5 separate regions of the Homo sapiens genome follow, and all the other regions are linked to region 3. The links are contacts of gene promoters, found by promoter capture Hi-C in human tissues and cell types (Jung and others, 2019). All regions are on one chromosome and are shown on one strand. Each heading gives the region's core, a stretch centred on a gene start or on the middle of the fragment in contact. The rest is flanking DNA. Distances are from core to core; before and after follow the strand shown. Region 1 holds the start of CBR3 (carbonyl reductase 3). Region 2 overlaps SETD4 (SET domain containing 4). Region 3 holds the start of RCAN1 (regulator of calcineurin 1). Region 4 overlaps LOC101928269 (a long non-coding RNA gene). Region 5 has its middle 74 kb from the start of LINC01436.

Region 1 (5,720 bases), core at 3,221-5,720, 1.5 Mb after region 3:
CCTGCTAGAGCCATTATTGCCCCCCATGCAGGATATACGTACTGTGGGTCTTGTGCTGCCCATGCTTATAAACAAGTGGATCCGTCTATTACCCGGAGAATTTTCATCCTTGGGCCTTCTCATCATGTGCCCCTCTCTCGATGTGCACTTTCCAGTGTGGATATATATAGGACACCCCTGTATGACCTTCGTATTGACCAAAAGATTTACGGAGAACTATGGAAGACAGGAATGTTTGAACGCATGTCTCTGCAGACAGATGAAGATGAACGCAGTATTGAAATGCATTTGCCTTATACAGCTAAAGCCATGGAAAGCCATAAGGATGAGTTTACCATTATTCCTTTACTGGTTGGAGCTCTGAGTCAAAAGAACAGGAATTCGGAACTTTTCAGTAAATATCTAGCGGATCCTAGTAATCTCTTTGTGGTTTCTTCTGATTTCTGCCATTGGGGTCAAAGGTTCCGTCACAGTTACTATGATGAATCCCAGGGGGAGATTTGTAGATCCATTGAACATCTAGATAAAATGGGTATGAGTATTATAGAACAATTAGACCCTGTATCTTTTAGCAATTACTTGAAGAAATACCATAATACTATATGTGGAAGACATCCCATTGGGGTGTTATTAAATGCTATCACAGAGCTCCAGAAGAATGGAATGAATATGAGTTTTTCGTTTTTGAATTATGCCCAGTCGAGCCAGTGTAGAAACTGGCAAGACAGTTCAGTGAGTTATGCAGCTGGAGCACTCACGGTCCACTGAAGCTCTGAATCCTCAGGGATGCCACCTGCACATTCTCATACTCTGTCCGGGCTCCCAGCCTAGCCTTTACCACGATACTGGTCCTGGTTTGGGGGGATTCTGAAACCTCAAACTAATAGAACTTTCTTCTCTTTTTTTCTAGTAGGTGTAGTCCTTCCTTAATTTCAACTCATTAAAAAATGCTTTATAGTTTAGGGCAGTGGAAGGAAGGCTGGCATCAAAATATTTTGATCAAAAAAGATGACAATGTAAAGGCTCAGTTATGGCAGACAGTTTTTTGAAAGTAACTTGTAAAGCATTTACCATATCCTAAATTTGCACTCTTTGCAGACTTGTGCACATATATTCCGCTTTCAGAATAGTTTTGCAAATTGTACACAAACAAACAAAAAGGTGGAAGCTTTTTAATAAAGAAATTGCATTTATAAATGATCTGTATTAGAATATAATAAATCTCCAGTTATAGTCAATTACTACCCATGTTGTACAACAGATACCTTCTATTTTAGTTGCTAATAAAGGGCTACACAACTCAAAATAAATAAATAAATAAATAATTTAAAAAATAAATAAAAATAAACTGAATGAAATTGAAAACATATCAATGTGAGATGCCACTAAAGTCATACTAAAAGGGAATTTACACCACTTACTGCCTACATTAGAAAAGAAGTCTCAAATCAATGCAAATCAATGACTTCTGCCTTTACAGTAAGAAACCAGAAAAAGAGCAAATAAAATCCAGTAAGCAGAAGAAAGGAAACAAAGATCAGAACAGAAATTAATATAATCAGGAAAAGAGAGAGAGAGAGAATCATTGTAACCAGAAGTTTGAGGAAAATCAAATCAATTGGTAAACCTCTAGCCAGACAGATCAGAAAAAAACACGAAAGACACAAACCAGTCTCAGAAATGACAGGTAGCATCATTACCAACATTAAAAGGATAAGGGCATGTTAAAAGGATAAGGGTATCAATAGAATCAACACCTTAGATGAAATATATAAAAAATTTGAGCTCTTTCTCAGTGACCAGGGCCTGTGCTTAGGCATAGACGGGCAAGTGGAGCCAACATGCCAGCGGCCCAGAGCTGGGTTTGTTGCCAAACTTATGTGACCCTGCAGAGACCCTTCGAGAAACCTCATCTCGACCAAAAGCTAAAGCTGATTGGTGAGTATGGGCTCCAGAACAAATGTGAGGTCTGGAGGGTCAAATTTACCCTGGTCAAGATCCATAAGGCCGCCCGGGAGCTGCTGACGCTTGATGAGAAGGACCCACGGCGTCTGTTCGAAGGCATTGCCCTGCTGCAGTGGCTGGTCCGCACTGGGGTGCTGGATGAGGGCAAGATGAAGCTGGATTACATCCTGGGCCTGAAGATCAATGATTTCTTAGAGATTCCTACAGACCCAGGTCTTCAAGCTTGGCTTGGCTAAGTCCATCCGCCACGCTCATGTGCTGATTCAACAGTGTCATATCCGTGTCCGTGAGCAGGTGGTAAATATCCTGTTCTTCACTGTCCGCCTGGATTCCCAGAAGCACATTGACTTCTCCCTCTGCTTCCCTATTGGGGTGGCCAACCCCAGCCACGTGAAGAGGAAGAATGCCAGCAAGGGCCAGGGTGGGGCTGGAGCCAGAGATGACGAGGAGGAGGAATAAGCCTGCTTGTCCCCTCCTGGGCTGGTGGATTGTCTAGTTTTCCTGCCAAATGATAAAACAGGATCAATGCTTTATTTAAAAAAATAAAATTATGAAAAACAGAAATTAAGGTCACTCAAGAAGAACTAGGCCAGGCACGGTGACACAAGCCTGTAATACCAGCACTTTGAGAGGCCAAGGAGGGAGAATCGATGTAGCCCAGGAGTTCAACCAGTCTGAGCAACACAGTGAGACTCCCATCTCTAAAAACAAATAAAAATAAAATAAAATAAAAAATTATCCAGGCAGGCCGGGTGTGGTGGCTCACGCCTGTAATCCCAGCACTTTGGGAGGCCAAGGCGGGTGGATCACGAGGTCAGGAGTTCGAGACCAGCCTGGCCAACATGGTGAAACCCTGTATCTACTAAAAATACAAAAATTAGCTGGGTGTAGTGGCAGCGCCTGTAATCCCAGCTACTCAGGAGCCTGAGGCAGGAGAATCGTTGGAACCCAGGATTCGGAGGTTGCAGTGAGCCAAGATCGTGCCACTGCACTCCAGCCTGGGTGACAGAGCAAAACTCCGTCTCAAAAAAAAAAAAAAAAAAAAAATTATCCAGGCATGACTGTGGCACACTTGTAGTCCCAGCTACTAGGGAGGCTAAAGGGGAGGATCACCTGAGCTCAGGAGACTGACGCTACAGTGAGCCACGACTGCAGCACTGCACTCCAGCCTGGGCGACAGAGAAGACCCTATTAAAAAAAAAAAAAAAAAAAAAAAAAACAGAAATAGAAAGCCTAAATAGCCCCATATCCTTAAAACAAGGTTCCAAATGATCTTTTTTTTTTTTTTTGAAAAGTCTCACTCTGTTGCACAGGTTGGAGTGCAGTGGTGCAATCTCGGTTTACTGCAACCTCCGCCTCCCGGGTTCAAGCAGTTCTCCTGCCTCAGCCTCCTAAGTAGCTGGGATTACAGGCACGTGCCACCACACCCAGGTAATTTTTGTATTTTTAGTAGAGATGGGGGTTTCACCATGTTGGTCAGGCTGGTCTTGAACTCCTGACCGCGTAATCCACCCGCCTCAGCCTCCCAAAGTGCTGGGATTACAGGTGTGAGCCACCGCGCCCGGACCAAATGATCTTTAGGAGAAAAAAGAAGGAAATACTGGGGGAGGCACAGTAGGAGATCACAGCAGGGGCCCACCTCCGGAACCTCAAGTAAGGACTTGAGAGAGAAGGTAGAGTCAGAGTAACAGAGACACAGGCGGGTTAGCCAGCTCTGCATGGAAAAGGCTGAGTCGTGATGATGTCATGGTTCTCCCCAAATCTCAAAGTCACTGATCAAACAACTCAGTTTACACTGAAGACGATGGATGAGACTCTAATTTTGTGCCCACAGCTTGACACACCTTTGGGAATTTGGTTTAACTTTCTTTGCCGGTACACAGATCTGTGAGAACATATGATCAATCCAGATCTTTATAGATCTATATCCTCCCTGGACAAACCTAAATGCAGACACTTTTAGCACCCGTAGGAGTTAGGTAGGATTAAATAAAAACATTCCCTCCCACTTGGGGGCACATTCACTGGGAATCCCAGAGCGATGTCGCCTGCCCACACCTGCTAAGTGCGCTCACAGGGCATCTAGTTCCCTCTCTTGAGTTCCTTTTAAGCAAGCAAGGCAACCTATGTCCAGAGAAGCAGTTACTGTGTCTAAGTAAGTCACTGCATCTTAGGAAAAAGCAAACATTCGCATTTTGCAGTGCATGATGGGCGCACACCCAAGAAAATTACTCAGCACTTGTTTTTCTCACTTTGGGGTTTTCCCAAAATAATTTCTTCAGTCCAGTTGCCAAGAATCTGGAGCCCCCGACTGACCCATCAAGGTCCGATTTGGCTTCGGACACCTCGCAGATCACCCCGCGGCTCAGAGCCCGGATCCTGAAGGGCGCAGCGTGGGCAGGGGGCGGGCCCGGGAGTTGGAACAGAGGGCACAGACGGCCCCTCCTCGGAGGGGAGGGACCGGAGCCGGGGCCTTTTTCTTTAAGACTCGCAGCACTGGATCCCAGAACTTAGTCTGCGCGGCGGCATTGACACTAGCTGGGCTCCTCGGGGCGCGCCCCAGGTGGTCCGAAGCCCGGTCCGCCCTCCACGCAGGTGCCCCGCGCTCCCCGCTCAGCCATGTCGTCCTGCAGCCGCGTGGCGCTGGTGACCGGGGCCAACAGGGGCATCGGCTTGGCCATCGCGCGCGAACTGTGCCGACAGTTCTCTGGGGATGTGGTGCTCACCGCGCGGGACGTGGCGCGGGGCCAGGCGGCCGTGCAGCAGCTGCAGGCGGAGGGCCTGAGCCCGCGCTTCCACCAACTGGACATCGACGACTTGCAGAGCATCCGCGCCCTGCGCGACTTCCTGCGCAAGGAGTACGGGGGGCTCAACGTACTGGTCAACAACGCGGCCGTCGCCTTCAAGAGTAGGTGCAGGGCTTGGGTTGGGGCCCCCTGGAGCGCTCCGAGGGTGCGGAGGTGGCCAGCCGCAGGCTCCCCACCCGTCCACTTGAGTGACCGAGGAGGGTGGCGCCGACCCCTAGGGATGCGCTCAGCCCACGCCTCCCGCGAGGCGGTTTTCGCTTTCCGTGATTCGCTGAGCCCCAGGCGGGCCCGGGCGACAAACAGCGCGCCCCGCCCGCCGGCCTGTGAGGGCCTGTGCGCGGCCCGGGGCCCTCCCCGAACTGTCAGCCGCTGTTGTGTGCAGGAAAACTGGCCTCCTGGGAGGGGGCAACGCCCTGCTAGAGTTCATCAGCTTTCCTTCCAACGCGAGAAACATTTTCTCTGCAAAGAAACGGTCTCCGCTCGCTTTGGGCTTTCGCTTTCCTTGAAAGGGCGCATTCATAGATGCCCGGAGGCATTTGCTCGGGAAAGGAAATGAATCGCTAAAACAGGATTAGCGCGCGCTTGCCCTTGGTGGACTTGACAATTTGTGTAATGCAGAGCTTTGATAGGCTCTGGCAAAAAGGAAGCGAGCCTTCTCGTTCCCCCACCCCCGCCCGGGGAGCTTATGTTTGTTATAAAATACGTGCGTGTGGTCTTAAAAGCATCTTCCTTAAGGAGAGGGGCGGGGATCAAGAGATTGCTTATTCTAACTACTACTGAAGAAAATTACAGGAGGGCGCAGTGGCTCACGCCTGTAATGCCAGCACTTTGGGAGGCCGAGGCAGGAGAAACGCTTGAACCTGGGAGGCAGTGAGCCGAGATCGCGCCACTGCACTCCAGACTGGGAGACAGAGCGAGACTCCGTATGAAAAAAAAAAAAAAGTTACT
Region 2 (5,473 bases), core at 798-3,297, 1.4 Mb after region 3:
AAACTGTGCAGGGTCTCGGCAGATGCCCTGAGAATCTTTAGCTCTTCCGTCCACAAGGATTCCACCAAAGTTAGTTGGTTTATCAGGGCCTCTTTTTCATCCTTCATATGAGACACCTGAAAGTTATTTTTTAATTATTGTTATTGTAGTAAAACATATATATATATTTCACAGAACGTACGTACCTTTTTAACCAATTTTAAGTGTATGGTTCAGCAGCATGAAGTACATTCACATTGTTTAGATCCACTGCCACTCTCCAGCTCCAGAACTTTTTCTATCACCCAAACAGAAACTCTACAAGCATACATCAATAACCCTATTCCCCTCTTCCCCAAACCCCCCGTCACCTCTACTCCACTCTCTGTCTCTACGAACTCACCTGTTCCAGGAACCTCACAGAAGTGGATCATACAGCATTTGTCCTTTTGTGTCTGGCTTATTTCATTTCCAATAATGTCTTCAAGCTTCATTAAAATCACTCTTTAAATCCCAGGCATGTTTTCATACGAATAAGCTGATTTCTCATTTAACTAAAACATTTACTAAATAAACACATCAATGAGAAAGAATGCTTGAAGTCACACAGTAACTTTTACTTTTTGCCTTTTAATAAAAAGTAAAGGCAAAGATATGGAATCAACCTAAGTATTCATCAACAGATGAATAAAGAAAAAGTGGCATATATACCCAGTGAAGTACATTCAGCCTTATAAAAAAGGAAATTTTGTCATTTGTGACAACGTGGATGAACCTGGAGGACATGCTGTCACACGGCAATAAGCCAGCACAGAATGACCAATATTGCATGATCTCACTATACATGGACTCTAAAATCATCAAACTCATAGAAGCAGGGAGTCAAATTGTGGTCACCAGAGGCTGAGGGGTTGGAGAGGGATTAGGGAGATGTTGATCAAAAGACACCAAATTTCAGCTGGACCAGAGGATTAAGTTCAAGAGATCTATGGTACATCGTGGTGACTACAGTTAATAACAATATATTATGTACTTGAAAATTGCTAAGTGCAGATTTTAAGTGTTCTCACCACAAAAAAAATAAGTATATGTGATCATGCATATGTTAAATAGCTTGATTTAGCCATCCACGATGTATACCTATTTTAAAACATCATGTAGTCCACTATAAATATATACAATTTTTACTGACCAATTAAAAATAAAGAGGCCAGGTGCAGTGGCTCATGCCTGTAATCCCAGCACTTTGGGAGGCTGAGGTGGGCGGATCACCTGAGGTCAGGAGTTTGAGACTAGCCTGCCCAACATGGTGAAACCCTGTCTCTACTAAAAATACAAAAATTAGCCAGATGTGGTGGCGGGCACTTGTAATCCCAGCTACTCGGGAGGCTGAGGCAGGAGAATCACTTGAACCCAGGAGGCGGAGGTTGCAGTAAGCCGAGATCGTGCCATTGCACTCCAGCCTGGGAGACAGAGCAAGACTCTGTCTCAAAAAAAAAAAAAAAATAGAAAAGAAAAAGAAAAAATAAAAATAAAAAATTGAGAGAAAAAGCATAGGTACTATGTTAACAGTCAAAAATGGAGCCCAGATGCGGTGGTTCAGGCCAGGCGCAGTGGACACTTGTAATCCCAGCACTTTGGGAGGCTGAGGCGGGTGGATCACTTGAGGTCAGGAGTTCAAGACCACCCTGGCCAACATGGTGAAACCCCGTCTTTACTAAAAATACAAACATTAGCTGGGCATGGTGGCGGGTGCCTGTAATCCCAGCTACCCGGGAGGCTGAGGCAGGAGGATCGCTTGAACCTGGGAGGTGGAGGTTGCAGTGAGCCAAGATCGTGCCATTGCACTCCAGCCTGGGCAACAAGAGTGAAACTCCATCTCAAAGAAAACAAAAATAGAGATTACATCAACATTTATTTATTTAAGGCACTAAACAATGCTCTTATGAAATGCACTATCCCTAATAACATGTACAAAACAAGGAACTGCTGAATCAAGACACTTCTTTAAGGATGTCATATTCTAGAAACATACCTTTTGAAGCACAGCATTAGTCTCTTCTATGAAATAATAGCATATTTTCTGGGCTATGTCCAAACTTGTCTTCTCATTCGTATCTGAAATTACCTCCCCAAGAAGTACTTTTTTCCAGCATGTACTAGAACCAAAATGTTCCATGACACAATTTTAGCAGGCTCTCAAAAAACAGATTTTTTTGTTTCAGTGCAACACATAAACTCCTTCTCCTATTTCTCCAGGAGCATAATACAACTCATTCCATAAGCAGATTCCCCAAACCTCCATGCCACTTGCAGCTCCCATGTGGAAGCCGACCAGGTAATGAGAGAGGAGGAGGAGGAGCTGAGAATAAAAGCACGGGGGGTGGGTACTCTCTGCAGGCAAGGGCTGAATGTTATTATCATCACAAACCTGTGTCTGACCCATGAGTGAATGAAGTCCCGTTCCCGGCCATGGGAACGAAGCCAGTGACAGAACAGGAGGGCGAGTCCACAGCCGAAAGGCAGAGGACTAAGGAGCAAAGGCAGAAGTTTTCCTTCAAGTGACCGTCTGTCCAAAATAGTAGCAAACTGGGCACAATTCACAAAGCCAAATGCTCCATGTCTGGAAGGAGGAATCTACAGCAAGCCTCTATCCCCATGCAGGTCATTCCAGTGCTCTACTACAAAGGTTCGCAGGAAACGGGGCTCAGTCAGCAGGCAGGGCCCACTCTGGAAGGTCTGCTGTGGCAGGTGCAAGGGAGCCACAGCAGGATGCGGAGCAGAGGTGGCAGCGCCAGACCTAGACACTAGAAAGAAGAACTACCGGGAGAAAGACGACGGAGGACCGGATTCTGAACACCGAGAATCTGGAAGTGGAAGTGGCTTCGAAGGGGAGGAAAGATGGCTGCTGTGGAAGTAAACAGGAGCCCATTAGATTCAGAACAGCTGGCAAGACACAGCCCGGAATAGTCTCAGAAGGCTTCAGTTTCAGAGATGACAGGTGAAATGAGTTCTCAGTAAAGAAAAAGGAAATGACTGTGTGTCAGGCATGGTGTTCATGAATAACCATTACCTAATTTAATCTTCACAGTTACCTAGCAAAGAAAGCACGATAATCCGCATGCTAGACTCAAAGAAACACTCAGCAAAGTTGAAGCACTCACCCTGAGTGACAGAGCTAGTGAGGCAGAAAGAACTGAAACGCCCCAGCCAGAGCCCCACACGTGCTTTCTCCACACCCACTCAGTAAGCGGTAACTCAAATGCAAGAAAAGAGGCCTAAGGAAGACCTCTGGGAAACAGCCAGTTGTTGTATTTAATTTTAGGCTGAAGTGTCCGAAAAGGACTCATACCTTGTTGCCAGAAGGATTTAAAGAAGCTAACATAAGTACACACAAAATAAAAGGTAAGATGAATGAAGGCAGAAAACAAGACAAAGGAAGACAAAAGGAGAAAAGACAAGACACTGCAGGAATGGGCCAGTGCGAAACCGCATGTCCCAACACTAGGTACGTTTGCATGCACCTCAGATTTGCCTCTCAGTTTTCCAGTGAACAAGGAAAAGAAGGAAACATCGGTTAAAGAATTCATAGTATCTGTAAGATAAAAACACTCCATTTGCTAAGAATAAAAACAAAAACTATGTCTAGTGTTGAGACCAGAGAGAAATTTTACTCCAAAAGTTCCTAGAGAAAAAGAAGGAAGCAACATCATCTCATCCAAAAGAAGAACAGGCGTCACTGAAGGGGCACCGACTGCTCCCAGGCACTGTGCCTCATCTCAGTCAGTCCTCCCAACTGTTCAAGGACAGCCTGCACCATCTTCAAGAGGTTCTCCCTGGATATCTAGCAGCAGAAGGTTGAAGGCTGCTCTCCCTGCCAGGGACTCAGGCTGAAGCTGCCCCTACACTGGGTACAGCACAGCTGGATGTGTCGACAGGGGGCTGCAGGGAGCAGGACTGACAGCAGGCAGGAACATGAGGGAGCCTGGCCAGGATGCACACCCACACCGGGGGCTCCCCGACCTGCCTCCCCCATGGAAAAGTCCAGCTCTTCAGCCAGGTTTCTGGATCTCCCCCAGGGCAGGACCGACGTTAGGGACTCTAGCTCTACTTGTCCTGGGCAAAACCTACCTACTCAGAGACTTTCCTCTGAACAGTGCCAATGCCCACACTTTTTAAAGGATTTCAGGTCACCAGAAGGAAAATATGAGTAGAAACAAAAAGATTATCAAAACTATGTATGCTGAGTCTAAAACCAGAATTCCAAAACGGTTAAAACTTAGAAATGAAACATTCGCTACATGGGCAAGTTACATAATGAGAAAGCAACTCCAATGTATGACATCCCTTTTTCCTCCCTGGCTGGGTATCTGAATGCAAGCCAAAAACAAACAAACCAACCCTCCAAAGTTATATCTAGCCTGTTGCTACAGCTTAAGACCAACACATGTGAAACTTACAATTTCTCAGCTTCCAGACATAACAACTTAAGGGCTGTGAGTAGCCTCCAAGATGGTCCATCCCATCCAAATGTCAAATTTCTGAAGTAGAAAAACAAATAATGACAAATCCATCATTTCAGTATTTCATGACCTCATAGCAAATGACTGAAGAGCCAAACACCTTTTTAAAGAGGTTGCTAAATGTCATGTAACCTGCAACCTCGGCCAAAGGACAAGAGAAAATCAGTCTGCAAATACTTAAGAAGAAAGCCTAAGTAACAGGAAATTCTCTCCCCATTTTTTTTCTAAAGAGTAAACAGCTGGCCGGGCGCAGTGCCTCACGCCTGTAATCCCAGCACTTTAGGAGGCCAAGGCAGGTGGATCACGAGGTCAGGAGATCGAGACCATCCTGGCTAACACGGTGAAACCCCATCTCTACTAAAAATACAAAAAATTAGCTGGGCGTGGTCGCAGGCACTTGTAGTTCCAGCTACTTGGGTGGCTGAGGCAGGAGAATGGCGTGAACCCGGGAGGCAGAGCTTGCAGTGAGCTGAGATTGCGCCACTGCACTCCAGCCTGGGCGACAGAGCAAGACTCCTTCTCAAAAAAAAAAAAAAAAAAAAAAAAAAAAAAAGAGCTTAACCATGGATGAGGGGCCGGAGGCAGGGCCCATGCACAGGAGTTCCCAGTAAGAGAAACGCTTAAGAACTGGAACTACCCTGGGCATCCCACTGATGGCAGCCACCACTGCCAGGCTGCTCTCACACCATGGCGGGATCATTTCAAACTTCATTTCATCCAGAAAAGAAAATCTGAAAGGGAGAGCCTTGAACCCTGTTTAGCCACTTGGCATGGAATCACCTCGCTACCCACCTACCCCAAGAGCCTGCACCATGTTGCCAGGTGCGTGGGCTCTCCTGAGGCCCAGCCTGGCCTTTCCACATGACCACAAGGGAGACAGACTCACCCTGGGCCACCCATCAACACATCCAAGCTCTCTTTTGGTACCATAATTTAATATTTCTAGCTTGTATCTTATGTCCCTAAAGAAG
Region 3 (5,368 bases), core at 2,219-4,718:
GACTTTTGTCAGCATTGCAGTTAATGATCTGTTTACACAAGGGGAGATACCACCAACCTAAAGTAGATTTACATTTACATTACATCATCCAAAGGTGACACCCCAGTCTTAACAGTAAGACTGCCACATTGAAACCGCAGAAACTACATATTCCCACCTAGAAGGATGGTTTCAGCTAAATGAGAAATGGTCCACTTGCTGCAAGGCTTACCAAGGACCCGCTGTGACTTTAGCTCTCAGGTTGCCCACTGCATAGAGCTATTTGCCCTCAGAGACTGGGACTCCCTTAGCCCACCTGGTTTTTGGGTTTTCACTGATTGCTGTATATCTCACAGGACCCTAGAATTGGACATCAGTGCACAACCCTCCCTCATCCCCATTCTGAAGCTCCAGATTCTCCAAATGGAGAGAAGAGGCTCAGATGGAGGCTCTGCCCCTTTCTCCATCTCCAATACCACCATCCTAGTCCCACTCCCTTCCTATCTCCCCTGGATGATGGCAACAGCCTCCTACCAGGTCTCCTTGCTTCCTCTCTAGCCTACCCAGTTTCCCTCCTGAAAGCCATTCTCCACCAAGATGTGCAATTAGAATCACACCTGAATCCTTACCATGGCCCCAGGGGGATGTTTTCTGGTTGCTTATCCAACCTCAGCTACCAATCGCCTCTCTGTCTCTCATGCAACCCTTCAAGTCCTTTAAAAATGGAGTTCACCCTGCACTGGAGCTTCTGCACCTGCTAGTCCCTCTGCCGGGATGCCGGCCACACAAACACCTCCCCAGGGAGCTTCTTCCTGTCAACCTGGTCCAGGCTGTGCAGAGGCCTCCCTGGGCCACTCCATCTAAAGTGGCTCCCTACTAACTCCTCTGTGTAAGTCCCCTTTATCCACACTGTCCCCAGAGCCATTATCTACCCTTCTGTGGGCCCTGAAAGGATGACCCAACCTATGGACTCCACTGCAGGGGCTCCCTTGCCTCCTAGCTGTCCTTTGAGTTCTGCCAATGAAATCAGAAGCCTGAGAATTTCTTCCCTGCCTGTACCCTGCCTTAGCATCTCAACTCCACACCTTCAAGTCTACAGCTCCTGGCAGGCAGCTCCTCCCCTAGGTTTCCAGCCACGTGACTTCCTCCCCCAGCTCCAGCTTCCAGCTGTTGCTCATGGCTGCAGGCCTGGACATCCCTTGTTAGTTCCCTCAGGACTGCCCCAATTCACCAGCTCTTCAACAAAACCCCCACAGTGTTAGGACCTGACCACTCTGACCAAGCCCCCTCCCCTTGCTCTCTATCCCTGTTTCAGTCTCTTCATCGCATTTATCACTATCCGAAATGATCTTGTTCACTTGCCTTTTTCCTATTGTCTATCTCCCCCTCAACCACTGGATCCTAAGCTCCATGAAAGCAAGGAGCTTGAAATGTTCCCTGCTTTATCCTCTGGGCCTAAACCAGTGGCTGGAACACAGTAAGCACTCAATAGACAGCAAAGCCTGAATGAACCAATGCTACATTGTCTCTGCTCAAAATATCACCATATCAGTAAGACCTTCCCTGATCATCTTATGGAAAATAGCAATCTCCCCTCCACTCCCAGATCTCCACTCCCTCCTCCTGCCCTCCAAGTCTTATTTTTTCCTATAGCATCATTACTTTCTGATACATTTGATATTTCTTTATTGCTTGTTTCCCTTCCAAAAAATGTCAACCCTGGAGGCAGAAATGCTATTTTATTTACTGATGCAGCCTCAGAGCCTAGGACAGTACCTATCCCGTAGCGAAGTCTCAATAAATATTTGTTAAAATGAATAGCTAGCGAAGTGGGCAAACTTTCATACAACACAATTTCAGGATTGTATCCAACACTGGAAAAAATTGTCTCCAACACTACAAGTAAGTGCCGTCTTACGTGACTTGACCTTGTTCTAGCAGAAAGACAGCCTAGAACTCCTAAGGAAAAGGTCTGAAATGCTGGCTAGCGCTTAGTTTATATGGAGAGGAAAAGGTTTTAGAGTAAGATCAATCAGTAAGACCCTGAGTTCCTGACAATTGCTGCTCTAGAAAGCATGCCTGGAAGCTTACCTAAGCACACGGCCATTGTAATTCCTTTCAGAAAGTAAGTGAACATATAAATTATAAATAAATGACACTTACATACACCATTCTGTTTCACAGTGGTGTTGTATTGGCAGCAGCCTTCAACTATAGTTCATTGACAGCATTTGTGGACCCACAGCCAAGCGCTGAAAGCACTGCTTTTTTTGACAGCTGCTCTCCTAATGGGGCATCTCTCAAAGACCGGTTTCATTCTGTGACGCCCACGTTGTCCACATTTTATTCTGCACAATAACTGCAGATTTGAAATAAATTCTTCCTCCCCACCACCATTATTGATTACTCATACCTGCCCCTCACCCTCCAAAGTGTCTAAATTGTGTGGATTTTGCGGGGGTGGGGGGAGGCGGGGGAAGGAGTCGACTCCCCATGTACTGGGTGTCCCCGATGGCGGCAAGCCACACCTTCACACAAGGGGGCAAGGTTCTTGACTAAATATCCTAAAGGTCTGAAAGATGGTCCCCTTCCCCCCAACACAATTCCACCAAAACTGGCCAGCCGCTGGCTAATGAGCAACCACGGATCCTCACCCAAACATTGGCTTTTCTTCCAATAGTGCAGATTGGGAATGCAGGGACGTCGTCCTATTTATGAACACTGAGTCACGTCGCCGCTCAATGTCTGTTTCCTCCTCCCTAGGAATGAGGTGACCCCCTCCTCCAGCGAGTAAATGCGGGGCGATGGCGAGAGCGCAGGGGGCGGCGGCGCTGCCCCACCTTGGGGAGCGAATTCACCCCCCTAGTCGCACCAGCCTGGGCGCACACGGGGGCCGGGGCGAGCCTGTGGGACTCTGCAGTGAGCTCCGCGCGCCCCGGGGGTGCTAGGGGACCGGGACCCTCGGGGCGCCGTCCCCACGCCCCAGCCCTGACGGGTCCGCGGCCGAGCAGCCCGGGGGACGTCGCTGCCTCCCCGCCCCGCGCGCGGCCGGGACTGGGCGCTGCGACCCGCGCCGCCTCCTCGGGCAACAAGTGTCCGCCCTCCGCCCCGACGGCCCGCCCGGCGCGGTCCTCACCCGGCACAGGCCGTCCACGAACACGCGCGGGTCCAGGTGACAGGCGATGGTGGCGCTGGGCAGGTCCTGCAGGTCCACCTCCTCCATCTCGCAGTCAATGAAGCTCCAGTCGCCGCCGCCCTCGTCCGCCTCGGCCGCCCCCGAGAGGGGCGCGAAGGGCCGCAGCGTCACCCCGGGCCGCGCTCGCGCCTCGGCCGCCTCCGCCGCCTCCGCCGCGGCCCCGAGCTGGGGACCGGCCACGCCGTCCTCCATCCCCGCGCCCGCGCGACCCTGTGCGCCCCAGCGGGCTGCTCCGGGCTTGCGCGCCGGAGCCTCACGCGCTCCGGTCCGCGCCCGGCCGGCGGCTCCGCCGTTAACCCCCTCGGAATCGCGCGGCGGCAGGCGGCGGGCTGTCAGCAGTCTCCCAGCGACACGGCCTCCCAGCGCCAGCCCCGCCCGTCACCGTTCCGCGCGGGAGGGGCAGAAGCCCGGCGCGGCGACCGCCCCCCCAGCCCCTAGGGCCGGCCACCGGCAGATCCAACGGTGGCCCCTTTAAGGCCGGCGCCGGTTGGGTTATTGTACCCCGCCCTTCCAGGAGACGGGGCCAATAAAGGAACGGAATTCTCTTCACGTGACCTTCCTTCTGCCGCCCGAAGCCCGAAGCCTCAGGGCGGCCATGTTGGTTAGGGGCAAAGTCCTCGTCCCCAGTTCCGCTTTTCTGACAGCTGGTGCCAGCTGAAGGACGCCGGGCAGAGTCCTCGGCTCTTGGGCCCTTGGGGTGATAACTGGGGAGGCAACGTTTTTGTGGTTCCCATGCGGGGACGTTTTGAAGCACAGGGGCCCACTTTTGGGAATTTAAGCGAGACATAGTCTCCCTGTGGCTCTGTGGCCCCTGGCAAGTGGTTAGATGCTTACCGTATATTATCAGATATAGTCGCAATAAAGACTGAACTAGACCATGATAACAATGCCTTACTTTTCTATTTCAGCGTATTAGTCACTATACCATTGTGAAAATTTATGTAATTAGAAGTAATTTTTCTGAATTACCATTATATGCTATGTACAATAGGACATAACGAAAGAATTAAGAGATCACCCCTTTCCTTTGGGGAATAGCGGAAAAATAAGAGGACCTCAAGTGAGCAGACATGTCTCTTCCTGAAAAATAGAATTCTTTTTTGGACAGTATGATACAGTGAGAACTTGGGTCTGAATTTCAGCTTTGCTTTTTAACTACTTGTACAAATAAGCTGAATCTTAGTTTCCTCATCTGAAAAAAATGAAGACATATTACTAAGAATTCAGTCAGTGCTTAATAAATGGTAGCTGTTTATGCACTGGGTTCTTTGGAGGTTGTGAAATTACAGTTATATTTTTTCTTAGAGTAGGCTTACTCTCTAGTTAGGAAGTGTTAGTAATTATAACAAAAAGTATATCCAACAGCTGAGATTTATTCAGAACTTGCCATGTGCACGGTTCTATGATTACTATTATCATAGTCTTAGGACAGTTTGTGTCCTCAGGGAGCTAAACCCAAGAGGAATAATAATACCCATCTAGAGATAACTCATAAAATAGAATATGATATGAGGATGTGAAGAAATTGGAACCGTCATACTGTGAAAGGGAAATCTTGGGCCCCCAAAATCACTAAGGAAAACTAAAGCTGGAAGTTGCTTAGAGCCAACCAGCCTCCCATTCCATTCAAAGTCACCCCTCTGCTCACTGAGACAGATGCATTTCACCGAGACAGATTTGCCTCCTTTATAAAGACTAATCAGAAACCCAAAGAGTGTAACCGTTTGTCTATCACCTATCTGTGACCTGGAAGCTCCCTCCTGCCTCCTGCCTTTGCAGTAGTCTTCCTGCCTTTGCTTCAAGTTGTCCTGCCTCTCCAGACCAAACCAATGTACTGCTTACATACATTCATTGATGTCTCATGTCTCCCTAACATGTATAAAACCAAGCTGTGCCTTGATCACCTTGGGTACATGTCCTCAGGACTTCCTGAGGCCTGTCATGGGCATGCCCTCAACCTTGGCAAAATAAACTTTCTAAATTAATTGAGACCTGTCTCAAATTTTCAGGGTTCACAATATATTGCTGATGGGCATGTAAAATGGCGCAGCCACTTTGGAAAACAATTTGGCAAGTCCTCAAAAAGTTCTATGTAGAGTGACCATATGACCCAGCAATTCCTCTCCTAGGTATATACTTAAAAGAAATGAAAACGGCCGGGAGCCATGGCTCACGCCTGTAATCCCAACAATT
Region 4 (5,322 bases), core at 1,690-4,189, 1.3 Mb after region 3:
AGCAATATTATATCCACCCAGGGAAAAGTCTTCCTGGGGATTAGAGTGGGCTCTGAAATTTGAGGCTTCTCAAGCTTTCATAATTGTTATCCCAATTAATGTAACTGCAGACACCATTCTTATATTCCCAGGTACAATAATGTCCCGTTCCTTTGAAGCTCATCAAGCCATTTGCTTCAACACTTGAGGAGGCAAGCCCCAAGGTTAACAGCCCTCCACGTGAGCCTCTCATCTGCCTGCTGTACAAATGTGTTTTCTTTGCATTTCAGTCATGCCCTGACCTTGGAGAGGACGATGTAAAGGGGAATGCCTAATTAACTTTCCATTTATAAACCAATTATTTTACTATTGGCACCTTCATTCTGCAATCACTGACATAAAATCTTTTACAAAACAAAATGTAATAAATGAGAAATCGATTGGATTTTTTTTAAGTTTGCTTTGAAGTCAGCCATTAATAAGAAATGTCCTTTAATAAGAGAGATCTGTCTATAGAAGTTCCTCGACGTCAGAGCCCAGCTGTGCGGCTGCTGGAGGAGACGAAGCCGCATTCAATCAAGGCTTTGGAACTCTTCCTTGTTCATCTTTAACTGCAAGGACAGAGGCGTACTATTTTTCTTTTTTTTTTTTTTTTTTTTTGGTAGAGAGGGGGGTCTCCGTAGGTTGCTCAGGCTGGTCTCAATCTCCTGGACTCAAGCAATTCTCCTGTCTTGGCCTCCCAAAGTGCTGAGATTACAGGTGTGAGCCACCACACCCAGCCAGTACCAGAAGGACTGCTTTTCTCCTTAAAAAAGAGGGAAAGAATGTTTTCACATAGATCTTCATGTGCTAAAATCACACCAAAAACTCATGCAAGGTCAATGAAGAACAAAGTTCTCTGCTCCCACCACAGAATCTTTGCATTGACTGTCACTGTCCCGGACACTCTTTCCCAGAGGTCAGCATGGTTCTCTCCTTTATCTTCTTCAGTTCATCATCAAGTGTCACCTTTTGGTGAGACCTTCCCTCACCACCCTACTGACAACTATAAACCAGCAGCCCCGACATCTGCATCCCTTCTCCACCCTGCTTTCCTCCATAGCACTCCCATGCTTGACATTCTTTACATTGGGTCTACTCCTCCCTTTTGATTATTCCACGCCTCCCCACCATGAGAATGTAAGCTCCATGAGGACAGGAAGATCCCAGCAACACCTAGAACAGAAGCCAACATAGAGCCAGCACTCAATAAATATAATGAGACGTATACATCAAGTATTTACAATGGAAAGTCAAAATACCGCTGCCCATCATGAGCAAGTCATTCCCCTTCTCTCCACAAAGATAGACAGTGTGGTGAAGCCACTGCCCAGGTGAGTCGAGAACAAAGAAGAGAGAGAAAAACTGCTCCTGTTCTCCAACATCAGATACAAAGCACCGTGCCTTCCATGTCACCTGGGAGCCCAGACTCAGGCAGCTACCATGATCCCTGCCCACACCTCCACCTGAAACTCCAGAGGGAAGAGGGGTAATGTTCCCTCTGGCTTCTAGCTTGCTCGTGGCTTGCTGGTGAGTTGTATCCAGGGCCAGCTCCATGGGAACTGCTGTAGTCACACCCAGGGTCCCATACTCAGAAGAGTCCCAAGCTTGGTTTCATGCTCTGCTGTGGCCGTCTGGAAATTCTTTCCAATTTTACCTTTGAACTTGGGACAGTGGAGCATGCATATGAGCAGAAGAGATTCATAAAACCAAAAGAAAAACTTTATATTTTAGTACCTTTAGCAGCATTTTTTTCTCTGCTTTTTCAACAAGCAGATCCACATTTTCTTTTTGTACTGAGCCCTAAAAATTACGTAGTTGGTCCTGGATGCATTCATGTTCTTTGTGGAGGGAAAACTTTCTAAGGTGGAGAAAATCCACTCTGTCTAATGGTTCTGTTCTCCCAACTTGATAGAGGTGTGGCCATCTCTTTCTGGCTAACAACAGCAACAACAAAGCTTAGATTCTAATAAATCCCAAATCAAGGAGAATAATTGAGCTGATTAGTTGCTTTGAAGGAAAGAAATAATACAGAAAATTCTTTTATAAAAATAATTACTGGAAATTTTAATAAGCTAATTTAATAAATTTTCCCAGCTAATAAGAGTAGCTGGGAAACTACTTTTGTTGTTGGGAAGCTATTTTTGTTGTTTGGAAACTTCAGAAAGTTATTTACTGAAGTCATATGACAATTTCTACTACATGTGCACCATGTACCAAAAGGGAATTGTTTAATCCACCTCTTCCCAAGGGCAGAGTCAGGATTCGTGGACATAAAACCCAAGGCTTTACAAATACTGAAGAGAACTTGGCTATTCAACAATTATGTGTATTAACAAAAGGCAAAATGCATCATTAATTCTATAACTTTCTAATTTTGAGAAAACTCCATAGACTCACAGGTTAAATTAAAATAGAAAAAATTTAAATGAATTGCTAAAATGTAAAAGTTAGATGGATCATTCGTATGTTGAATGATAATGATATCCAAATTTGATAAATTTCAAAAGATCAAAAAGTTTAACTTCATATAACTTGTGATGGTTAATACTGAGTGTCAACTTGATTGGATTGAAGGATACAAAGTATTGATCCTGGGTGTGTCTGTGAGGGTGTTGCCGAAAGAGATTAACATTTGAGTCAGTAGGGTGGGGAAGGCAGATTCACCCTTAACCTGGAGGACACAATCTAATCAGCTGCCAACAAACAAAAAGCAGGCAGAAAAACGTGAAAAGGAAAGACTGGCCTAGCCTCCCAGCCTACGTCTTTCTCCCGTGCTGGATGCTCCCTGCCCTCAGACATCAGACTCCAAGTTCTTCAGTTTTAGGACTCAGACCATATATATATATATATATATATATATATATATATATATATATATATATATACACACACACACACACACACACATATACATATATATACACATATACATATATTTATATATATACACACATATACATATATATACGTATCTTCTATTAGTTCTGCCCCTCTAGAGAACCCTAATACACCAACAGAGTCATATTTTCCCAATTTGTCAATCCTTCCCTATTTCTCTGTCTCTACTATTCTATAAAAGATAATACAAGACCTAGGAAATAAAATCAAACACCTACAGAAGTCAGACATGTAACATAAACATGTGAACCAGGCTGAATACAAGACAGAAGGGGTAAGACAGTGGGACTGCATGTGTACCTTCTAAATTTTTTTTTTTTTTTTTTTTGAGGCAGAATCTTCCTTTGTCACCCAAGCTGGAGCACAGTGACGCAATCTCAGTTCACTGCAACCTCCACCTCCTAGGTTCAAGCAATTCTCCTGCCTCAGGCTCCCAAGTAGCTGGGATTACAGGCATGCACCACCACACCCAGCTAATTTTTGTATTTTTAGTAGAGACGTGGTTTCACCATTTTGGCCAGGCTGGTCTCAAACTCCTGACCTCAAGTGATCCACTCGCCTCAGCTTCCCAAAGTGCTGGAATTACAGGTGTCAGCCACCATGCCTGCCCACTTTTTTTAATCAAGGAATCTTCTGAATTTTTAATCAAGTCAGGATCTTCTGAAAAGCATAAACCAGGGCAGGATTCAATGTACAAGTAATTTATTAAGAGAAGCGCCTATGAGTCTCTTATTCAGGCTGCTATAACAAAATATCATAGACTAGGTGGCTTATTAACAGCTGAACATGATTTCTCACAGTGCCAGAGGCTGAAAGTTGGACATCAGGATGCCAGCAGCAGTGTTAGGTTCTGGGGAGGGCTCTCTTCTGGGTTGCAGGCAGCTGACTTCTTGTTACATCTTCATATGGCAAGACAGGACAAAAGAACTCTCTGAGTGTCTTTAAAGGGAACTAATACCATTCATGAGGCTCCACCCTCATGACCTAATCACCTCCCAAAGGCCATCACATTGAGATTAGAGTTTCAACATATGAATCTGGGGGGCAAAGACATTCAGTCCATAACAGAGACAACATGAGGAGCAGGCTACTAGAGATGTTAGACCATCGTGTAGGTCTGACCTGCATGAAGGAGAGAGGGAAGGAAGCAAGGTGAATTAGATGCTTCCTCAACTACAGTGCATTTCTCCAGGAAGTTCTACAAGGCCAGTTGGGAGGCATCAAGCCACAGTCAGAGGCATCACCTCTCCCAGAAACAGGCCTGTCTGGGTATCCCACCTTGCTCAGTCATGAAAAGCAAGGTCTCGGGCCGATCAGTGATGGATTTCAAAGCACAGCAGCTGGGGCTGTTGGTCAACGATGCCAACTGCAGTCATAGATCTGAGGCCATTCTCATATCCTCCATAGTGCCCAATAGAATACACCTGAAGGCTAGCAATCTGAGCCTGCCTAGGCCCTTGTTAAACTCTCATGCTTCATTCTCTCACCAACTGTCATCTCTCCATGCCTATACCTCACTACCGACCAAATGAAAGTGTAGCTATCCATTCCATTCAGAAACATGGAAAGAATTCATTCCTTGAAAAACAGACCTTGCAGGACCTGTGCTAGGAGCAGACACAACTTCTAAACAAGCTGTCCTTACAGATCTGTTGGAAATCAGTCACTGGAGCTGCCTTCAGGCCAGAAAGTTTGCATCAGGTGTTCAGGTTGTTCTGTTTCCCCACAGAGGTCACAATGCCCTTGACTGAATGTGGCTCCATGGTTGGATAACTTATGCAGGAATAAACCACGATTAAAAAAATAATAACAAATGTTTATGCCAGCTTTTGAATCATAAAGCAATTTCCCATCCTTTCCTTTTCATACAGAAAAGTGTTCCCCTTAGGAAACTTCCAATGATGCCACTGATTCTTCCATGGATGCAAAAAATTGTGTTAGTGTTGTATTTTCAAGGTTGAGAAGGAAAAAACAAAAACAGCACTAGCAAACCGAGAACCTGTGAAAATATCGGTGGTAGTGTTGCCACACAGAGAGACTGAAAATATAATGGCTGCATTCCCCAAGGTAGTCTCAAGTTACCAAAATCATTCTGTGGAAGGCCGAGAGAAAATAAAGGAAAAGATCCCTGTAAATACGGAAGCAGTGAAGAGAGTAGCAATAGAAGGGCAGCCCTTTAAAAACAAAGGAATTATAAAACATGAAGGAAGACTAACAGCTAAGCCTTCAGAGGAACCAGAAGAAAACAGGCAACTGCCAGAAAGCCCAAGAACCCTCATACTCAACGTGTTCCCCAGAAAACACCCTGCCCTAATGTGTGGGTTTGTTGTTGTTGTTGTTTTCAGGAAATGGAAACCCCATTTCTTCCATTGTACTCATCAGAAACCTATCCATGTTTGACAA
Region 5 (5,107 bases), core at 1,718-4,217, 1.3 Mb after region 3:
GGTGGATCAGCAAGCATCATGTTCTCTTTGGCTTTCAAGCCTAGGGGGATAGTGACTTCCTGCAGTTACCAATCTGTAAGTAAGCTTGACTCCCTGTATTTACTCCTTCGTTCCTCTCAAATCATGCACCACCAATTTGTATGAAATTCCTTCTCTGAAATATTTACAGCGGTTTCTAGACAGAATAATGCACTGATTGGACACTGACTGATAACTTATCATGCAAATAATTTATCCCCACACACTGTATTTGCTATGAAGCAAATGTTAATCAGATGGTTAAAGATGATACGGTAACAATAAGGTCATTTCATTCAGTCTCCAAATTCATGGCAGATGGGCATGGTGGCACATGCCCATAGTCCCAGCATTTTGGTAGGCTGAGGCAGATGGATCACGAGGTCAGGAGATCAAGACCAGCCTGGCCAACATGGTGAAACCCCGTCTCTACTACAAATACAAAAAAAAGAAATTAGCTAGGTGTGGTGGTGCACACCTGTAATCCCAGCTACTCGGGAGGCTGAGGCAGGAGAATCGCTTGAACCCGGGAGGTGGAGATCACAGTGAGCCAAGACCACACTACTGAGTGAGACTCTGTCTCAAAAAATAAAAAATAAATTAAAAAGATGATATGGTAATGCTAAGGTCATTTCATTCAGTCTCTAAATTCATGGCAGATGGGCATGGTGGTGTACGCCTGTAGTCCCAGCTACCCAGGAGGCTGAGGTGGGAGGATCCCTTAAGCCTGAGAGGTAGAGGTTGCAGTGAGCCATGATTGCACCACTGCACTCAAGCCTGGGCAACAGAATGAGGCTGTGTCTTAAAAAATACATAAATAAACAAATTAATGCCAGAATTAGGAAGGAAAATTTAATTACATAAATTCTCTAAGACTCTATAAAACAGCCAGATGAGTGGTCCAATCCCCTTTCCAAATAGCTTTGGTTTCAATTTTATGTTTGTTGGCTTGGGGTCCGTCCATCTGGGTCATGTATTGGGCCAGTGTGGGATCTCAGGCATTGTTACTGGGTTCGCACGGCTGTTCCCTAACCTAACATGGCAGCATTAGATGCCAGCACTTTGATCCATGCACACACACAGGATATAGACATAAGAGCTTCCCAAACCAACTGGAAAGAGTCCCAGTGGGAATACTCCACGACATATTCATCAAAGTCAAATGCAGAGCAAATTGACCTGGCTCATTAATTATGAAAATTCTCTCACAAAGTGACATGTTGCTAACTATGTGGAAGCTTAGCACATTTTCACGTGGTTCTTTTTGTCTACTTGGATCCAAAATGTCACATTTAGTAATGCGTTGAGGTTTTCTTTTCCTTACTTAGGAAGAAAAAGCTATTTTATGCCGAACCCACATCTAAATATATATACTCGTGTGTTTACATATGCCCACTATGTGGATAGAGGTAGCCTGTTGGTAAGAAGGAAGTTTGCTATGCCAGAATTTGTTTTACAAAGATATATAGAAGGAATTTGAAAAATAAATGTTGATTATTTTAAAACCCTTGAATCTATGTTGAGCGCCTGTCCCCCCTGGACTAACTGGGCAAATTCAGACATCATATGAAAACCTGGCCTTATTTCTCTACATATGTTGGCTAAAGCAGTGAAAAGAACATGGGCCTCTCTCCACCATCACTGAAAGGAATTTCAGTTCCTTAGGTCTTTCATTTCCTCTCTCAAAATGTAGGAATGAGAACTTTCAGAAGCTCACAAAAGTTACCCTTCTATATTCAGGCCTTTTATCTAAACTGAGATGGTCATTATGTACTGCTTGACTTTTAAAAGCTCCTAAATGTGGCCAGGCACAGTGGCTCAAGCCTGTAATCCCAACACTTTGGGAGGCTGAGGTGGGTGGATCACCTGAGGTCGGGAGTTCGAGACCAGCCTGACCAACAATGGAGAAACCCTGTCTCTACTAAAAATACAAAATTAGCCAGGCGTGGTGGGCCATGCCTGTAATCCCAGCTACTCGGGAAGGCTGAGGCAGGAGAATCGCTTGAACTCGGGAGGCAGAGGTTGCAGTGAGCCAAGATCACGCCATTGCACTCCAGCCTGGGCAACAAGAGTGAAACTCCATCTCAAAAAAAAAAAGCTCCTAAATGTGCCTACTGAATCTTATGACAATGCCTGATCATTGAAAATCCTTTCTGGATCAGTTAGGTTATTAGTTTGGCTATCATTAAAAAAGGTCAAAGTAACAGTAACTTAAATTGATAATAGTTTATTTATTTTAAATATGGTCTAATCATAAATATTCAAAGTGTTATAACACTCCATAGTATCAGAGTTCCCGCTCTTCCTGTCCTGCTGTTCTGCCATCCAAAACACATAGCACGTGCATACCTGTGCATACCTAAGCCTGTGCATAGAGGCCCCACAGCAACTCTGCACATAGCCCTCAAGGTCACATCCCACGGGCCATGTGGCAGTTCTTGCTGCAAGGGAAGCTGGGAAACATAACCTTTGTTCTGGGCTGCATTGGACTCAACTTTACTAAAGGAAAGGGATGGCTGAGACCAGCCATGTCTGCCACAGCCTTCTTTTCATTAAGGTGCAGCGTTTCCCTAAGTATTGGCACAGAGAAGGCACAAAATAGATATGTGTTCAATGAACAAATAAACAAATGAATAAATAAAATTCTTCAGGGAATGCTTATCTGAAAACAGACATGAAAACAGTTTGCTAGGATATTCACGGTTGGTTGTTTTCATCAATTTCTCAGAGGAGAAATTTAGTTTTTATTAGATCATTAAATCAATTTAAACAGACATATATTTGTATATCAGCATCAGGAAGAGCAATGTAAATGTCCTACGGGTGACATCATCATATTCTTCCCCAGCATTTCTCAAACCTATCTAGCCATGGAACCCTTTGTCAGAGAACATTTACTAATGATTTACAAGACATTCATGAAAAATACTCTCCTGCCTAAAATCTTAGCAGAAAAATAGAATTCAGCCATTTATCCACTTAGGATAGGACCATAAAGAAGTCAATATACATGTAAATAAACTACATTTTTTTAAAGCAACAAGAGAGAAGTCTTTTCAGCACATACTATTAACAGTCCCATAGTATCTTCCAATGGCTGTGAATAACTAGTAGGTTGACCTGCCACCTTACATAATGTCTTCATCTCCCCAGTAATTTCCCAATAATCCTGGAGTACTGGAAATGGAAGACACCTTAAAATGGTATCAAAGCCATTCGTCGGCCTTCAGATCCTAATGTCACTAAACTAACTGAGAGAAACCAACATCAGAGCAAAACCTCATGACATGAGCTCATTCCTACACAGGGTCTGGAAAACATCACTTCCACTTTAAGTACACACTAAAAAAGGATGATGATTCAGACAGACAATCTTAGCTGCACTGCGCGGGTGGACAAGGGGATTGTAACCAGCCATCCAGGAAATCTGGCATCTGTCCAGAAAACAAGTCTAAATTTTGAAAGGTCTCTGCCTAACACATTCAGTTTATGTCCACAGGTCTCTGAGGAAGTGCACTTATAAAGAGGAGATGACTACGTTAGAAATTATGACTGAGGCAGCTTTTGCGCTGTAACTCTTGCTTAAAAGGGAAGTACGCCAGTTCCCCTTTGAAACAGTTTCTAAGCAGCAGGTGGCTACCACCAGGAAGCCAGGCACACGATGCAGCAGTATTGATATCTGGCTGTGTTGTACAGATCTTCCCTTTATCCATTCGAAGGATGTGAAAGCGAGGGCAGAGGGTAGAATTTTTAGCTGGTAATGGTCTCTTTTAATCAAAGAACTCAATAAATTACAAAGAGACTGAGTCACTTGTCCTGTCTCAAAGAAATGTCATAAGAATAGCTCAGGGCAGTAAAGGAAGTTTAATTAACGCAGCCGGGTGTGGTAGTTCACACCTGTAATCCCAGCGCTTTGAGAGGCCAAGGCAGGCGGATCACCTAAGGTCAGGAGTTCGAGACCAGCCTGGCCAACATGGCAAAACCCCATCTCTACTTAAAAAAAAAAAAAATTAGCTGGACATGGTGGCACATGCCTGTAATCCCAGCTACTGGGGAGGCTGAAGCAGGAGAATCGCTTGAACCTGGGAGGTGGAGATTGCAGTGAGCCAAGATCATGCCACTGCACTCCAGCCTGGGTGACAGGGTGAGACTCCACCTCAAAAAAAAAAAAAAAAAAGAGCTCAGAATTGGAGAACATTTATAAGTAGCTTGGTTTAGGGGAGGACAAATGAGGAGAAAGCCGATCTAAAATAGGTTGGGACAATCTATTAGCCAACTATCTACACTCTCCCACCATAGTTTTCATTATTGCATTAATGAAAGCTGAGTCTCCAGAAATTAAAAAAGACTGTTTCTCAACCTATCTAAGCTGCAATCCGTTTTAATGAAGCTAAGTATAGAGACAGAGGGAACCTAGATAATAATAGAAATAACTGTGCTAATGTTTAAAAGAAGAAAAGAATGAGGTTAAGGTTAATTGCAGTAAATAATAATGAAAAATGTGTGTTATTCAATATAGTCACTAAAAGGATGAAAATATTTTCAAATATGACTCATTCCAGTTGAAACAGGAAGGGAAGTAAAAGCATCAACATCTGACAAGACATTAAACTCCCTAAGTCAGAGCAGCGCTGCCCCTGTGGGGAAGAAACTATCCTCCTCCCAATGGCACAGAACCAACTCACTCAAGCCAGGCGCCTCTGGAGAAAGTCACTGAATCACATATGTGTGTGCACACACACACACGACAATAGCCAGCCAGAGAGTGAGAAAGAAAGAGGGTATACTGACCCCTAAAGGACCAAGGCAGACTGTAGACATCTTTCAAGAAGGAAAGGAATGAAGAAAAAAAAAGGCAATAGATAATTTAGCTCAAAATCATGTTGGGAGAGGGTTGACCAGTTCTTGGACCCAGGGATCTTGAGAGAAAGAGTAGATGAGCCCAAATGTCCTCAGTAGGCACTTGAGGTAAGGAGCCAAGAGCTGACTTAGAAGGAGAAGGAAGGAGGACCCACAGGAATAATAAAGCAAGAAGGAGAGCACTTAAATACACCACATGTCTTCAAATTCGCAGGCCCTAGGGATTTGT

Evidence for each region. The method cuts DNA at HindIII sites, captures the fragments that hold promoters and counts their contacts. A contact is called where the count stands out against the background at its distance.
Region 1: the fragment with the promoter of CBR3 here is called in contact with the fragment with the promoter of RCAN1 in region 3 in 1 of the 25 tissues and cell types used here (spleen).
Region 2: a contact is called between a fragment that was not itself captured here and the fragment with the promoter of RCAN1 in region 3, in 1 of the 25 tissues and cell types used here (lymphoblastoid cells).
Region 4: a fragment that was not itself captured here is called in contact with the fragment with the promoter of RCAN1 in region 3 in 1 of the 25 tissues and cell types used here (lymphoblastoid cells).
Region 5: a contact is called between a fragment that was not itself captured here and the fragment with the promoter of RCAN1 in region 3, in 2 of the 25 tissues and cell types used here (dorsolateral prefrontal cortex and spleen).

What each region holds. Positions count from the first base shown.
Region 1 is chr21:36,130,609-36,136,328 of GRCh38, forward strand. CBR3 (carbonyl reductase 3) reads left to right here and starts at 4,471. Exons shown (of 3, transcript NM_001236.4): 1 at 4,471-4,873. The coding sequence starts at 4,585. CBR3-AS1 (CBR3 antisense RNA 1) reads right to left here. Exons shown (of 3, transcript NR_038893.1): 3 at 1,159-2,466. It also overlaps the pseudogene MEMO1P1 and the pseudogene RPS9P1. RefSeq lists enhancers at 3,826-4,633, 4,634-5,440, 5,276-5,445 and silencers at 4,456-4,525, 4,956-5,125. The HindIII fragment of the contact is 7,591 bases long and covers 1,678-5,720 here.
Region 2 is chr21:36,036,136-36,041,608 of GRCh38, forward strand. SETD4 (SET domain containing 4) reads right to left here. Exons shown (of 12, transcript NM_017438.5): 9 at 4,440-4,520; 10 at 2,015-2,138; 11 at 1-116. Among named protein-coding and RNA genes, the nearest start is that of SETD4, 22 kb to the right of the region's middle. The HindIII fragment of the contact is 4,974 bases long and covers 1-4,534 here.
Region 3 is chr21:34,611,645-34,617,012 of GRCh38, forward strand. RCAN1 (regulator of calcineurin 1) reads right to left here and starts at 3,469. Exons shown (of 4, transcript NM_004414.7): 1 at 3,116-3,469. The coding sequence starts at 3,367. RefSeq lists silencers at 2,984-3,083, 3,274-3,703. The HindIII fragment of the contact is 10,572 bases long and covers 977-5,368 here.
Region 4 is chr21:35,954,042-35,959,363 of GRCh38, forward strand. It overlaps LOC101928269 (a long non-coding RNA gene), which reads right to left. Exons shown (of 6, transcript NR_110418.1): 6 at 619-784. Among named protein-coding and RNA genes, the nearest start is that of LINC01436, 49 kb to the right of the region's middle. The HindIII fragment of the contact is 8,113 bases long and covers 1-5,322 here.
Region 5 is chr21:35,928,962-35,934,068 of GRCh38, forward strand. No RefSeq gene overlaps it. Among named protein-coding and RNA genes, the nearest start is that of LINC01436, 74 kb to the right of the region's middle. The HindIII fragment of the contact is 9,246 bases long and covers 1-5,107 here.